Regions from separate parts of the Homo sapiens genome. Here region 2 is linked to region 1. Evidence: promoter capture Hi-C in 16 types of primary human blood cells and fetal thymus (Javierre and others, 2016). All regions are on one chromosome and are shown on one strand. The core of a region is centred on a gene start or on the middle of the fragment in contact, and the rest is flanking DNA. Distances in the headings are between cores, read along the strand shown. Region 1 holds the start of OBSL1 (obscurin like cytoskeletal adaptor 1). Region 2 overlaps DNPEP-AS1 (DNPEP antisense RNA 1).

Region 1 (6,453 bases), core at 1,229-3,728:
TCAAAAGTGTATTTCAAAAAAAAAAAAAGAAAAGAAAAGAAAACAGGATGTTGGAAATCAGAGGATTAACTAGGGCTGCTGGAGAAGCAAGTTTTTGTGTGCGTGTGTGTATGCAACTCGGGGAAGCTCCTCTAGCCTTCCCTCCGGGCTTTTCTTTCCTGATGGAGGTCCAGATCAGCACCAACCTGATGAATCTGTGAGCATTGAACTGTAACAGTGAGGCCACCACCGCAGCCTGGGGGCAACATGCTTGACTGCATGCTAGGAAGGACTCAGGAGAATTTACCAACTTTTTTTCCTCTAAGAGAAAAAACTGGACAATAACTAGTGAAGGTGTACTCTTTTGCGTTGTGATGAAATCCTATTATGGGGAGCGTTACCTTCTGGTGAGTTTGGGGTGTGCTTTTTTTTCCTTTGGAATTTTCTGTTTATGAGAATGTAACCATTTATTGGATATTGTTGGTGATTCAACTTTGAAATATAAACCTTCTCTCCTTCACCTTCCTCTTCTTGCAAACGTGGGGAGCAGTTTAATCAAAGAATAGTAAAAACACGCAGGACATTTGTCCTCCCTCAAGTCTAGCTTTCCACTGAATCACTTGTTTCTCAAGGTGACAGATGCAGCCAGGCCGTCCCCACAGGGTTCAGAGCCTGGTCTCATGAATGCAGCCTTTAATTCAAATTCCTGTATTCAATAAAATAGCCTCCTTATTCTCACTGATGGTTTAGAAGTACCTGTTATATACGTAGACTCAGCAATTTACGCCCATAAACTACTCCTTTATCTGTCTCATATATTGGGGCTCTGGTTGTGAATTCAGTGGGGGAAGGAGGAGTAAAATAACAAAGACGTTGAAAACCACTAGGGAAGAAGAGTTCTAGGGCCCTCCGGATTTGTACATCAATCACTCCTTAGTGGTGTTCCACCATCTGCCTCGGAATCATTTAAGGAGTTTGCTAAGAAGTTCCTGAGTACCCTGGAGACCTACTAAATCCGAATCCCTGGGGAGTGAGAGGCGGGCGGGTTTGGTATTTTAATATTCCCGCGGACCACCTCTCCTCCAGTCTTGGGGGCAGCGCTGGGCACCGAGGAGGGCTGGAGTTCGGAGGGCCTCGGAGGACACTCGAGGCCCCTCCCTAGGTCCCGGGCTCCGCCGTACCTTTCACGTGCAGCTGCACGGCACTGAGCGTCTGGCCCGCCGAGTTGCGCGCGGCGCAGACGTAGAGCCCACGATCCTTGGCCTGGCAGTAAAGCACCTTGAGCACGAAGCCGCCGTCGCGGTCGCGGTACATGAGGCGGCGGCGGTCCGGGAGCAGCGGGCGGCCCTCCCAGTGCCATTCGATCTCGGGCTCGGGCTTGCCCATCACGTAGCAGCGGAACTTGGCGTGCTTGCCCTCGTTCACCCAGAAGGTCTTAGGCGCGCACTTGAGCGGCTCCACCACCGGCGCGGGGGCCTCGTCGGGGTCCGCGGGCGGGCTCTCGGGGGGCTGGTGCACCTGGAGCAGCGCCCCCGCCTGCGCGTGGCCGTGCGCGTTGCGGGCGTGGCACACGTAGACGCCGGAATCCGGCAGCCGAGCCGCCAGGATGCGCAGTGCCAGGCTCGCGCCGGGGCCGTCCTCGGCGCGGCCCGGCTGGAGCGCGAAGTGGCTGCTGTCCCACACTTCGTCCAGGGCCATCCCGTCCTTCTCCCAGTACAGTGTGGGCTCGGGGAGGCCCCCCGCCCGGCACGTCAGCACCACCTCCGCCCCCCGCAGCACCCACTGGGATCGAGGCCCCGTGAGGAAGACCGGGGCGCCCTCCCCGGACCCCGGCGATGGCAGCGGGCGCTCGGCGGGCTGCAGCTCGGGGTCGGAGGCCGGCGGCTCCAGCACGGTGACGGCGGCCGCCGCGTAGGCCTCGCCGGCCGCGTTGCGGGCGCGGCACACGTAGACCCCCGCGTCGGTGGGCAGTGCGGCGGTCAGCAGCAGGCCGTGCTCCGCGCCGTCCGCCGGGAAGCTCAGGCGTTCCGAGGCCGCCAGCTGCTGCCCGCCCTTCTCCCACACCACTACAGGCGGCGGCTCCCCCAGGACCACGCACTTGAGCTCGGCCTCGGCGCCACTTACCACCCGCACAGGCCGCGGGAAGCGCAGGAAGCACGGGGGGCTCCCCTGATCCCCCGAGCTCGCCTTCATCGCGGCGGCCGACCGCCTGCAGCGGCGAACGGTGGGGGGGCAGGGGGGGGTGCGGAGGGCGAGCCGAGGCCCGGGGCGGCGGGGTCGGGGCGCGGCTGGGGACTGGGCGCGGGGACCCGCGGAGCTCTCCCGGGCCTCCCGCTCCCGGCTCGCCTCCTTACCCTCGGCCCCGAGCTGCAGCTCTGCGGCGGCGGCGGCGGCGATTCCCGGGCCCGAAGCCTGGCGCTCAGGGGGCAGTCCTTCCTGTTTGCCTCTCCAGCGAGTGGCCCCGCAGCCTCCCCTGCCCGCTGCCTGGCTTCCTGCTCTTAGGAGCCTCTCTTCCCAGCCCCCTCCCACAGCTTGGGCCTCTTCCCCCTCCTCCCTCCCACCTCCAGCCGCCAGGTCCCCAGCCGCCCGCCAGGCTTGGGCCTGAGTGGCAGAGGCGCCTGCAGCTGCCAATCCCAAAAATATTCTCTGATGACACAGCTGGAGGACAAGAGCCCAGACTGGCTCCACTGGTCTAAGTATAGAGCAGGCAGGACCACCTGCCCCCGGCCCTAGCCCCGGTTCTAGCCCCGGTTCCAGCCCTGCCCCCAAGGGCTGGCCGGCCAGCAGCTGCTTATTGAAAGGGGCCCCAGAAGGTCTGAGGGGTGATGCACTTTGTCTCCCTGACAAATAACACTTTCTGGGGCTGGCCGGCTACAGCTCCCAGGCTCCTGTCCCACCTGATGTCACCTCTGGATGTGTCTGTGTGTGTGTGTGTGAGAGAGTGTGTGTGTGTGAGAATTTGTGTGTGTGTGAGTGTGTGTGTGAGTGTGTGTGTGAGTGTGTGTGTGTGTAGGGAGAAGGTGTTGTATGTTTGCATGTGTGAGTCAGGTCGCTTGAGGCGAAATCCTTCCCAGCCCCTCCCCCACATCCCTGGCGGGAGTGGGAGATAAGGCTCATGGCCACAGACATCTGCGTCAGAGATAGGAGGTCTCAATGCCACGGGCAGGGGCAACTCGGACTGTGGGGCGTGGAAAGGACTGGGGAAGACTGGATGAGAAGGGTAGAAGAGGGTGGGTGTGGGATGGGGAGGGGAGAGTGGAAAGGCCCTGGGCAGACCCTGGCAGAAGGGGCACGGGGCAGGGTGTGAGTTCCCCACTAGCAGGGCCAGGTGAGCTATGGTGCTGCACCTACTGCTCTTCTTGCTGCTGACCCCACAGGGTGGGCACAGCTGCCAGGGGCTGGAGCTGGCCCGGGAACTTGTTCTGGCCAAGGTGAGGGCCCTGTTCTTGGATGCCTTGGGGCCCCCCGCGGTGACCAGGGAAGGTGGGGACCCTGGAGTCAGGCGGCTGCCCCGAAGACATGCCCTGGGGGGCTTCACACACAGGGGCTCTGAGCCCGAGGAAGAGGAGGATGTCTCCCAAGCCATCCTTTTCCCAGCCACAGGTAACGAGGGTGGGGGAACCGGCAGGATGACTTTGAGAAAAAGCAAGGCACAGCATGGGTTTGCAGGCCAGGCGGACCTGGGTTTGAATCCTAGTCCTGCTACTCAGTTGCTTTGCAGCAATAGGCCAGTTACTAAACTTCCTTATGCTTCTGTCTCCCCATCTGTAAAATGGGCTAATGCCCACCTCTCAGGATTAAGTGAGAGGCTGTACCTAGAGTGCATGGCAGGTGGGAGGCATTTGGGAAGTATGCGCTGGGAGACCGGGGGTCTCTAAAGATGGAGATATTTGGGCTTGAGCCCCTTCCTGCCACCTTTCCTCCTATCTCTGCCTCTGCTCGCTGCTCCAAACCCTGTTTCTTTACTCCCAGGTAGCTGACACTGAGAAGCTATCAGAGATACAGGCAAAAGATTAGTTGGGAAACTTTTCTGGAAAACTAGTCTATCTTCTCTTGAGTTCCTGTCTCAACATATATGTGCCCCCTTGTTCCACTGACTGAATGGATAAGCCCTCCTGTGGGTGGGCTTTCTTGTCATCTGGTCCACCTTTCTCTTAGAGAGGACCCCTGCCTCCCTCACTTCAGTCCGTTCGCAGCACAGTGGGGAGAAGGATGGCTTTGGGATCAGGCAAAATCCAAGCCTGGCCACTTAGTCGTTGAACGTCATTTCACCTCTCTAAGCCTCAGTTTCCTTATCTGCAAAATGGACCAATTGTGACTAGATAATGAGAGAAGCCATGTAACAGTATAGTTCCAATTGCCAGTCCATGAACGAGTGCTGCTCCAGGATGATTAGTATAGTCTATGAGTGTGTCAGTGTGAGGATGCTAACTACACATTCTTGAAAGGACTGCCCTCTGTTCTGAGTTACAGCCCTCCTCCTTCTCTTCCCCCTCTTCCTTGTTCTCCATTTTCTTCCCTTTCCCACTTGCCTTTCCCTCCTTCTTCTTTTTTTTTTTTTTTTGGTGTAAACCTGTCTTTTAAAAATGGAATTATTTTAAAGAATTTATCCTACAATATTCCTGACATGCCAAAGATATAAAGAGTAATATAGGCCGGGCGCGGTGGCTCACGTCTGTACTCCCAGCACTTTGGGAGGCCAAGGCAGGAGGATCACAAGGTCAAGAGATCGAGACTATCCTGGCTAACATGGTGAACCCCGTCTCTACTAAAAATACAAAAAATTAGCCAGGCATGGTGGCACCAGCTACTCGGGAAGCTGAGGCAGGAGAATTGCTTGAACGTGGGAGGCGGAGCGGAAGGCAGAGGTTGCAGTGAGCCGAGATGGCGCCACTGCACTCCAGCCTGGGCGACAGAGCTAGACTCCATCTCAAAAAAAAAAAAAAAATGGTAATATGGCTGGGTGTGATGGCTCACGCCTATAATCCCAGCACTTTGGAAGGTGAAGGCAGGCAGATTGCTTGAGCTCAGGAGTTTGAGATCAGCCTGGGCAACATAGCGAGACCCTGTCTCTACAAAACCCACAAAAGTTAGCTAGGTGTGGTAGCACACGCCTGTGGTCTCAGTTACTCAGGAGGCTGAGGTGGGAGGATTGCTTGAGCCCAGGAGGTAGACGCTGCAGTGAGCCGTGATCATGCCACTGCACTCCAGCCTGGGTGACACAGTAAGACTCTGTCTCAAAAAAAAAAAAAAAAAAGAATATAACAACCATCCATGTAGACACCATTCAGGATACTGTTTCACACTATCTGGTGAGTAAGCATTGAAGTCTAATACAAAGTCTTAGTGCTGGTGAAGTGGAGAGAGGGCCTCTTACACACTGCTGATGGGCATGTTAATTGGTAAAACCACTTCAGAGAGAAGTTGGCAATGTCTTCTATTTTTTTAAGTCCCTTCATGATGAAATTAAAAAATGGGAAGCCTACAGAAGCTCTCCCAAAACTCAGGAGAGTCCCCACGTCCCGGAGGGCGTGGAGCAGAGTGCAGCCCATCATTGGCTCATGACTGGTGGCCACATCCCTCCTGCTGAAGAGGAGGGGTGCCAGGTCCTGCCAGTCAGGGCTGCCCTCTCCCTTTTCTTCTGTCTCCTGCAGATGCCAGCTGTGAGGACAAGTCAGCTGCCAGAGGGCTGGCCCAGGAGGCTGAGGAGGGCCTCTTCAGATACATGTTCCGGCCATCCCAGCATACACGCAGCCGCCAGGTGACTTCAGCCCAGCTGTGGTTCCACACCGGGCTGGACAGGCAGGGCACAGCAGCCTCCAATAGCTCTGAGCCCCTGCTAGGCCTGCTGGCACTGTCACCGGGAGGACCCGTGGCTGTGCCCATGTCTTTGGGCCATGCTCCCCCTCACTGGGCCGTGCTGCACCTGGCCACCTCTGCTCTCTCTCTGCTGACCCACCCCGTCCTGGTGCTGCTGCTGCGCTGTCCCCTCTGTACCTGCTCAGCCCGGCCTGAGGCCACGCCCTTCCTGGTGGCCCACACTCGGACCAGACCACCCAGTGGAGGGGAGAGAGCCCGACGCTCAACTCCCCTGATGTCCTGGCCTTGGTCTCCCTCTGCTCTGCGCCTGCTGCAGAGGCCTCCGGAGGAACCGGCTGCCCATGCCAACTGCCACAGAGTAGCACTGAACATCTCCTTCCAGGAGCTGGGCTGGGAACGGTGGATCGTGTACCCTCCCAGTTTCATCTTCCACTACTGTCATGGTGGTTGTGGGCTGCACATCCCACCAAACCTGTCCCTTCCAGTCCCTGGGGCTCCCCCTACCCCAGCCCAGCCCTACTCCTTGCTGCCAGGGGCCCAGCCCTGCTGTGCTGCTCTCCCAGGGACCATGAGGCCCCTACATGTCCGCACCACCTCGGATGGAGGTTACTCTTTCAAGTATGAGACAGTGCCCAACCTTCTCACGCAGCACTG
Region 2 (6,453 bases), core at 3,954-6,453, 170 kb before region 1:
AGATTTGCGGACTTGCCTGGCAAAACCCCAACCCTGACTGCAACCAGCTCCTCCCCTGCTCCAACCTGTGTGGCTGGAGAAACATCCAAGCCGCGCTGCCTGGTCTCACTTTAAACCAGTGGTGTCCGGTCTTTTGGCTTCCCTGGGCCACATTGGAAGAAGTAGAATAGTCTTGGGCCACAAATAAAATACACGAACCCTAACAATAACTGATGAGCTAAAAACCTTTCAAAAAAATCTCATAATGTTTTAAGAAAGTTTACAAATATGTGTTGGGCTGCATTCAAAGCTGTCCTGGGCTGCATGTGGTCCATAGGTGGTGGGTTGGACAAGCTTACTTTTTTTTTTAGTTTTTTTGAGACAGAGTCTTGCTCTGTTGCCCAGGCTGGAGTGCAGTGGCATGATCTCAGTTCACCACAACCTCTGCCTCCTGGGTTCAAGCGATTCTTCTGCCTCAGCCTCTCAAGTAGCTGTGATTACAAGCATGAGCCACCATGCCTGGCTAATTTCTGTATTTTTAGTAGAGACAGGGTTTCACCATGTTGGCCAGGCTGGTCTCGACCTCCTGACCTCAAGTGATCCATCTGCCTTGGCCTCCCAAAGTGCTGGGATTACAGGTGTGAGCCACCACACCCAGCTGGACAAGCTTGCTTTAAACTCAACCACTAACCTAAGTGTGTTCTTTGTACTGCCCAGAGGTCCTATTGCATCTCCTGGGCCATTTGCTTCTTTGCTTTCCTGGAGGAGAGTTTCATCCAGTGTCTTCCTCCATCCCCACTCTCAGCCGAGGACCATGGTTCCCATTTTACTGTGAAAATAGAAGCCTTCAAAAGAGAATTTCCGCAAGTTTTAAGCTGCCACGCCTAGGCTCCTACCAGGATCTGAGCTCCATATTCTGCTGTCCTCATTTCTGTGGGTGAACCATCTGTGCTCCTATCCAAGGCCACCCTCTCCACTTGTGCACAAGATTCCACCCCTCTTGCTTACGTAAGGGCACCATATCAACTCTTCTTCCCTTTCTCCTGCATTATCAATCTCCACAGTTCTGGCGGGTCAAGCTGATTAGCATATACATGTGCTATAATTTCTCCCAAGAAAAAATAATCCTCCCTTAACCCCCAGTCTCCCTCCAGCAGTGGCCTCATTTTCCTTCTCCTCTTTATGTAAATCTCTTTTAAAAAGAACTATCTAGTCTTATGTTTTCCCGATTCCTCTCCTCCCATTCTCTTGTAAATCCTCTAGAATGAGGTTTTACCGCTGTCATTCCACCGCAACTTTTCTTGTCAAGGTCAAAAGCAACCTCCACAATGCTGAACCCAATGGTCGATTTTCAGTCCCCATTGTCGTTGACCCATGGGTCCTATTTGACATAGCCGTTTGCTCTCCTGGGAACACTCTCTTCACTTGGCCTTCCAGACACTTACTACCCTCACCACCACTCCTTTGGGTCTCTTCTGGCTCCTCCTCATCTCCCATCTTTAATGTTGTTATTATTTTATTATATTCATGTTTTTAAAATAGAGATGAGGTCTCACTTTGTTGGCCAGGCTGGCCTCCAACTTTGACCTCAAGCGATACTCTTACCTGGGGCTCCCAAACTGCTGGGATTACAGGCATGAGCCACGGTGCCTGGCCTCATCTCCCATCTTTAAATGGAAGGCCTCAGGGCTCAGTGCTTAGAAATCTCTCTACCCTCACTCCCTTGCTAATGTCCAATCTCATGACTTTAAATAGTATCCATACCCTGACAATTGTCAAATTTATGTATCCCTAGCCCAGATATCTCTTCTGAACTATATATATTCTCATATATCCAATTGTTTTTGCACAGTCTCCATATGTGTGCCTAATAGGAATCTCCAGTGTAATATGTCTTAATCTGAACTCCTTGTTCCCCAAACCTATTCCATCCACATTCTTCCCATCTCAGTGTTGTGCTGAACCCCTGTCCACTCCAATAAGGAAGGCCCCAGGTTCAAGAGGCCAAAGAAGAGACCCAGAGCCAGCAAACAAGACAAGGTTTTTTTTTTTTTGAGAGGGAGTCTCACTCTGTTGCCCAGGCTGGAGTGCAGTGGTGCGATCTCGGTTCACTGCAACCTCCACCTCCTGTGTTCAAGTGATTCTCCTGCCTCAGCCTCCTGAGGATTACAGACATGCACCACCATGCCCAGCTAATTTTGTATTTTTAGTAGAGACAGGGTTTCACTATGTTGGCCAGGCTGGTCTCGAACTCCTGACCTCAAGCAATCTGCCCTCCTCAGCCTCCCGAAGTGCTGGGATCACAGGCGTGAGCCACTGGGCCCGGCCGACGTGGGGTCTATTGAGGAGAACTTACATACAAGATGGTCCAGTGGTGGCGAGCTGGACAGTAGAACCACTGTCACCTGCAGAAAGCACGCATTTTCACTCAACACCTGCTCCCTAACAACCTCTACCTGGCAACCTTCATTTAACCCAAAACAAAGCGCCTTGATCCCCTGTATGGCCCTTGTTCCACAGGATGGGAAGGGGGCTCAGAGGTTCCTCATAGATGAGGATCTCTAGGTTGCCCACTCCAGGATTTCTTAGCTCAGAACTCCAAACACACATCAAGTATATCTGCCATTCAGGGTCATTCTCAGGGTGTGCTTCAGTTATTGCTGTCAGGTGCATCTGCCATACATTCAGTAAATGGCAACTTTGTCCTTCCAGTTTCAGGTCATAACTCTTGGCGTTAGCCTTGGTGCATCTCTTTCTCTTGCACCCCATGTCAGATCCATCAGCAAACCCTGCCTCCCAAGCTCCTTCACAAAGCCTTCCCTAGCATCTCCAGAGGGAAGTGCTTAGGGAGGCCAATCCTCCTCTCCTAGCGCCAGTGTCATCTCCTGTCTTAGGATCCACAGGAAGAAGTCTCTGTCAACTGGAAGTAACCTGCTGGCCTGTGACATGTAATCAATTTTACTTTGCTGCTGCAATCCTCAGTGCCTGGCAGGTAGTGGATATACAATAAACACTTACTGAATTAAAGAAATTTTGAAAAATAATTGTTCTTTGTGAAAAAGGGCCCTCATGGGATAATACTCAGCGATAAAAAGGAACGAGTGGTTGCTAAATGCAACGCTGTGGATGGATCTCAGGTGCCTTATGCTGAGTGAAAAAAATGACAAAATTATAGAGATGGAGAACAGATTAGTGGTTGCTCAGGGCTAGGGAGGATTTGGGGAGGGATGTGTGACTATGAAGGAGTAGCTCAGGAATATCTTGATGGTGATGGATAGTTCTATGTCTTGATTATAATGGTGGTTATGACTCTAACCATGATAAAGTTAGGGTTGCCAAATGAAATACAGAATGCCCAGTTTAATTTGAATTTAAGATAAACAAGGGCTGGGCGTGGGTGGCTTACACCTCTAATCCCAGCACTTTGGGAGGCCAAGGCAGGCGGATCACTTGAGGTCAGGAGTTCGAGACCAGCCTTACCAACATGGTGAAGCCCCATCTCTACTAAAAATACAAAAATTAGCCAGGCATGGTAGCGGGCACCTGTAATCCCAGCTACTAGGGAGGCTGAGGCAGGAGAATCGCATGAACTTGGGAGGTGGAGGTTGAAGTGAGCTGAGATCGTACCACTACACTCTAGCCTGGGCAACAGAGCAAGACTCCATCTCAAAAAAAAAGAAAAAAAAAGATAAGGAATAATCTTTTCAGTATAAGTATGTCCCAAATATTGCATGGGATATGCTTATACTAAAAACAAAATTTAACTGAGTTTCCTGTATTTTCATTTGCTAAATCTGGCAAACCTAGAAAAAAATAGCATCAAACCCTACGCACACACATTTTACCTGTGTCACTTTCCTGAGTGTAATACTGTGCTGTGCTTATCTAAGATGTAACCATCTGGGGAAACTGAGTGGAGGGCACACAGACCTCCATGTACAATTTCTGCAACCTCTTGGGAAGGTAAAATTATTTCCAAATAAAAAGGTTTTCAGAATGGCCCTCAAAGGAAAACCAACTGCTCCTGTTAGTGATGAAAACAAAGAGGTATAGGAAAGTGCTGGTTACTAACCTTGCAAGTTTTATGGAACACTGTAAAACTGGCACTTCACAAAGGTCTTAAGATGTATCCCCCTTGAATGTCAATGCTCTTGTATAGTTAGTGACAGTATAACAAAGTGGTTATGAGCGTGGGCTCAGGATCCACACACCGGGCTCACATCCTGGCTCCTGCATTTATTAGCTGTGGGTCGTATTTGCCGTGTTGTGCCAGAGCCAGCCCCCCTCCCCTCCCCTCCCACCCCCGTCTCTTTCCTGTTCCACATTCAGAGACATCAGACAGGAAGCTTGAGACAGGCCTGCAAGTATTTACACCACTGAGACTGGCAAACACTACAAATCAGGGCATTTTTTTTTTCTTCCAGAGAGCTAATTGGTTTTTTGTTTTGTTTTGTTTTATTTTTTGAGACAGAGTTTTGCTCTGTTGCCCAGGCTGGAGTACAGTGGCGTGATCTTGGCTCACTGCAACTTCAGCCTCCTGGATTCAAGTGATTCTCGTGCTTCAGCCTTCCAAGTAGCCTCCATATGATCAAGAATGTGGGTGGAATAGGTTTGGGGAACAAGGAGTTCAGATTAAGACATTACACTGGAGATTCCTATTAGGCCCACACGGACACTGTGCAAAAACAATTGGATATGTGAGATTATATATAGTTCAGAAGAGATATCTGGGCTGGGGGTATGTAAATTTGACAATTATCGGGGTACAGATGCTATTTAAAGTCATGAGATTGGAGATTAGCAAGGGTTACAGGCATGTGCCACCATGCCTGGCTAATTTTTGTATTTTTAGTAGAGACAAGGTTTTGCCATGTTGGCCAGGCTGTTCTTAAACTCCTGACCTCAAGTGATTCACCCGCCTCGGCCTCCCAAAGTGCTGGGATTACAGGCATGAGCCACTGTGCCTGGATGCTTTTCTTTTTTTTTTAATTTTTAATTTTAGATGGAGTTTCAGTATGTTGCCCGCACTGGCGGCAAACACCTGGGCTCAAGCAGTCCTCCCATCTTGGCCTCCCAAAGTGTTAGGATTACAGTTGTGAGCCATCACACCTGGCCCAGAGAGCTAGCTGTTAAACATCTACCATCACACCACAGACTTAGAGCCTTAGCTTCCTCATCTGTAAACCGGTGGAAGATAGTCATAACCTCATAATGTTATGAGGAGTAAATGGGATAATGCACGTAGGGTGCTCATCACTGAGTTCTTCAAATAGTTAAGTGGGCAGTACTTGTGAGCTAGTATTATCTCTCATTTTGAACCGTGAGCAACTTAAGGGCAGGTCGCTGCGCTAATCATCTTGATATCTTTAGTGCCTGGCCTGACATGTAGTAGGTTCTCAATGAATGTTTACTAAATTAGTGAATAAATGGCAAATAATAGTAACTTGGGGCCGGGCGCGTTGGCTCACGCCTGTAATCCCAGCACTCTGGGAGGCCAAGGCGGGTGGATCACCTGAGGTCAGGGGTTCGAGGCCAGTCTGGCCAACATGGTGAAACCCTGTCTCTACTAAAAATACAAAAATGAGCTGGGTGTGGTGGTACATGCCTGTAATCCTAGCTACTTGGGAGGATGAGGCAGGAGAATCGCTTGAACCCAGGAGATGGAGGTTGCAGTGAGCCGAGATTGCACCACTGCACTCCAGCCTGGGCGACAGAGCAAGACTCCATCTCAAAAAAAAAAAAAGTAACTAGGGTAATATGTCTCTAGAAAACCTGGACTTTTTCAGAAGACTTTTAGGACATACTTCTTAATCTTTAAACATGAGGGTTTTCAGGCCCTGTGGCAGGATGCCAGGGGGGTCTGGGGTGCACTCCTACCACCCAAGGGTAATGTCTGCCCTTGCAGGCCCACCTCTGAGCCCCCAAGGAATGCAGCTTCTGATGCACCCCCTCCAGGTGGCAGGCACAGGCCCTCGCCTTCCTCTGGGAGCCAAGATGGGGCATTTCTGGCTCTCAACCTGACTAGAGGTCATTTAATCCTCGCTGGATTTGTCTTGTTTATTTTAGTGAACAGGGCTGTTTACTTTCAGTTCGTATTTCTAGGGAAGCTTACTCATTTTGCTTCCCGTTTATTTACTCCTTGCAAGCACTTAAGTTTGAGTAAATATGTCTATGAAGTTCCAGGGACTGGGTGATTCTGTGTCTGCTATTTTAATGGCCTTTAAACAGTGTCTGCCCAGGTAGGCATTTTATAGATGGGTTGAAAAGATAGGCAATTCTGTTCTCAGTGGCCTCTGACTCCTTTCCAAGCTGACAGCTGGCCACCAGCAGCTTATGAATCATGGCTTTTCATCAGTAATAAAAATATCAAAGGCCAACACCTATCTCAAACAGAAACCGACCCACCCTGGTCCACCAGGCATGGGGCTTGGAAACTGGCAGGTGTTTAAACTCTAAGGCAGTGTTTAGGGTGCG

The links. The method cuts DNA at HindIII sites, captures the fragments that hold promoters and counts their contacts. A CHiCAGO score of 5 or more calls a contact.
Region 2: a contact is called between a fragment that was not itself captured here and the fragment with the promoter of OBSL1 in region 1, in 4 of 17 cell types (M2 macrophages, activated CD4 T cells, M1 macrophages and 1 more). The highest score is 5.6, in M2 macrophages.

What each region holds. Positions count from the first base shown.
Region 1 is chr2:219,569,061-219,575,513 of GRCh38, forward strand. It overlaps OBSL1 (obscurin like cytoskeletal adaptor 1), which reads right to left and starts at 2,479. Exons shown (of 21, transcript NM_015311.3): 1 at 1,161-2,479. The coding sequence starts at 2,172. INHA (inhibin subunit alpha) reads left to right here and starts at 3,250. Exons shown (of 2, transcript NM_002191.4): 1 at 3,250-3,582; 2 at 5,634-6,453. The coding sequence starts at 3,315. RefSeq lists enhancers at 585-1,422, 1,423-2,260, 2,947-3,241. The HindIII fragment of the contact is 22,564 bases long and covers 1-6,453 here.
Region 2 is chr2:219,392,941-219,399,393 of GRCh38, forward strand. The region is part of intron 2 of DNPEP-AS1 (DNPEP antisense RNA 1); the gene reads left to right. It also overlaps a transcript of DNPEP not described here. Among named protein-coding and RNA genes, the nearest start is that of DNPEP-AS1, 7.6 kb to the left of the region's middle. The HindIII fragment of the contact is 1,761 bases long and covers 4,324-6,084 here.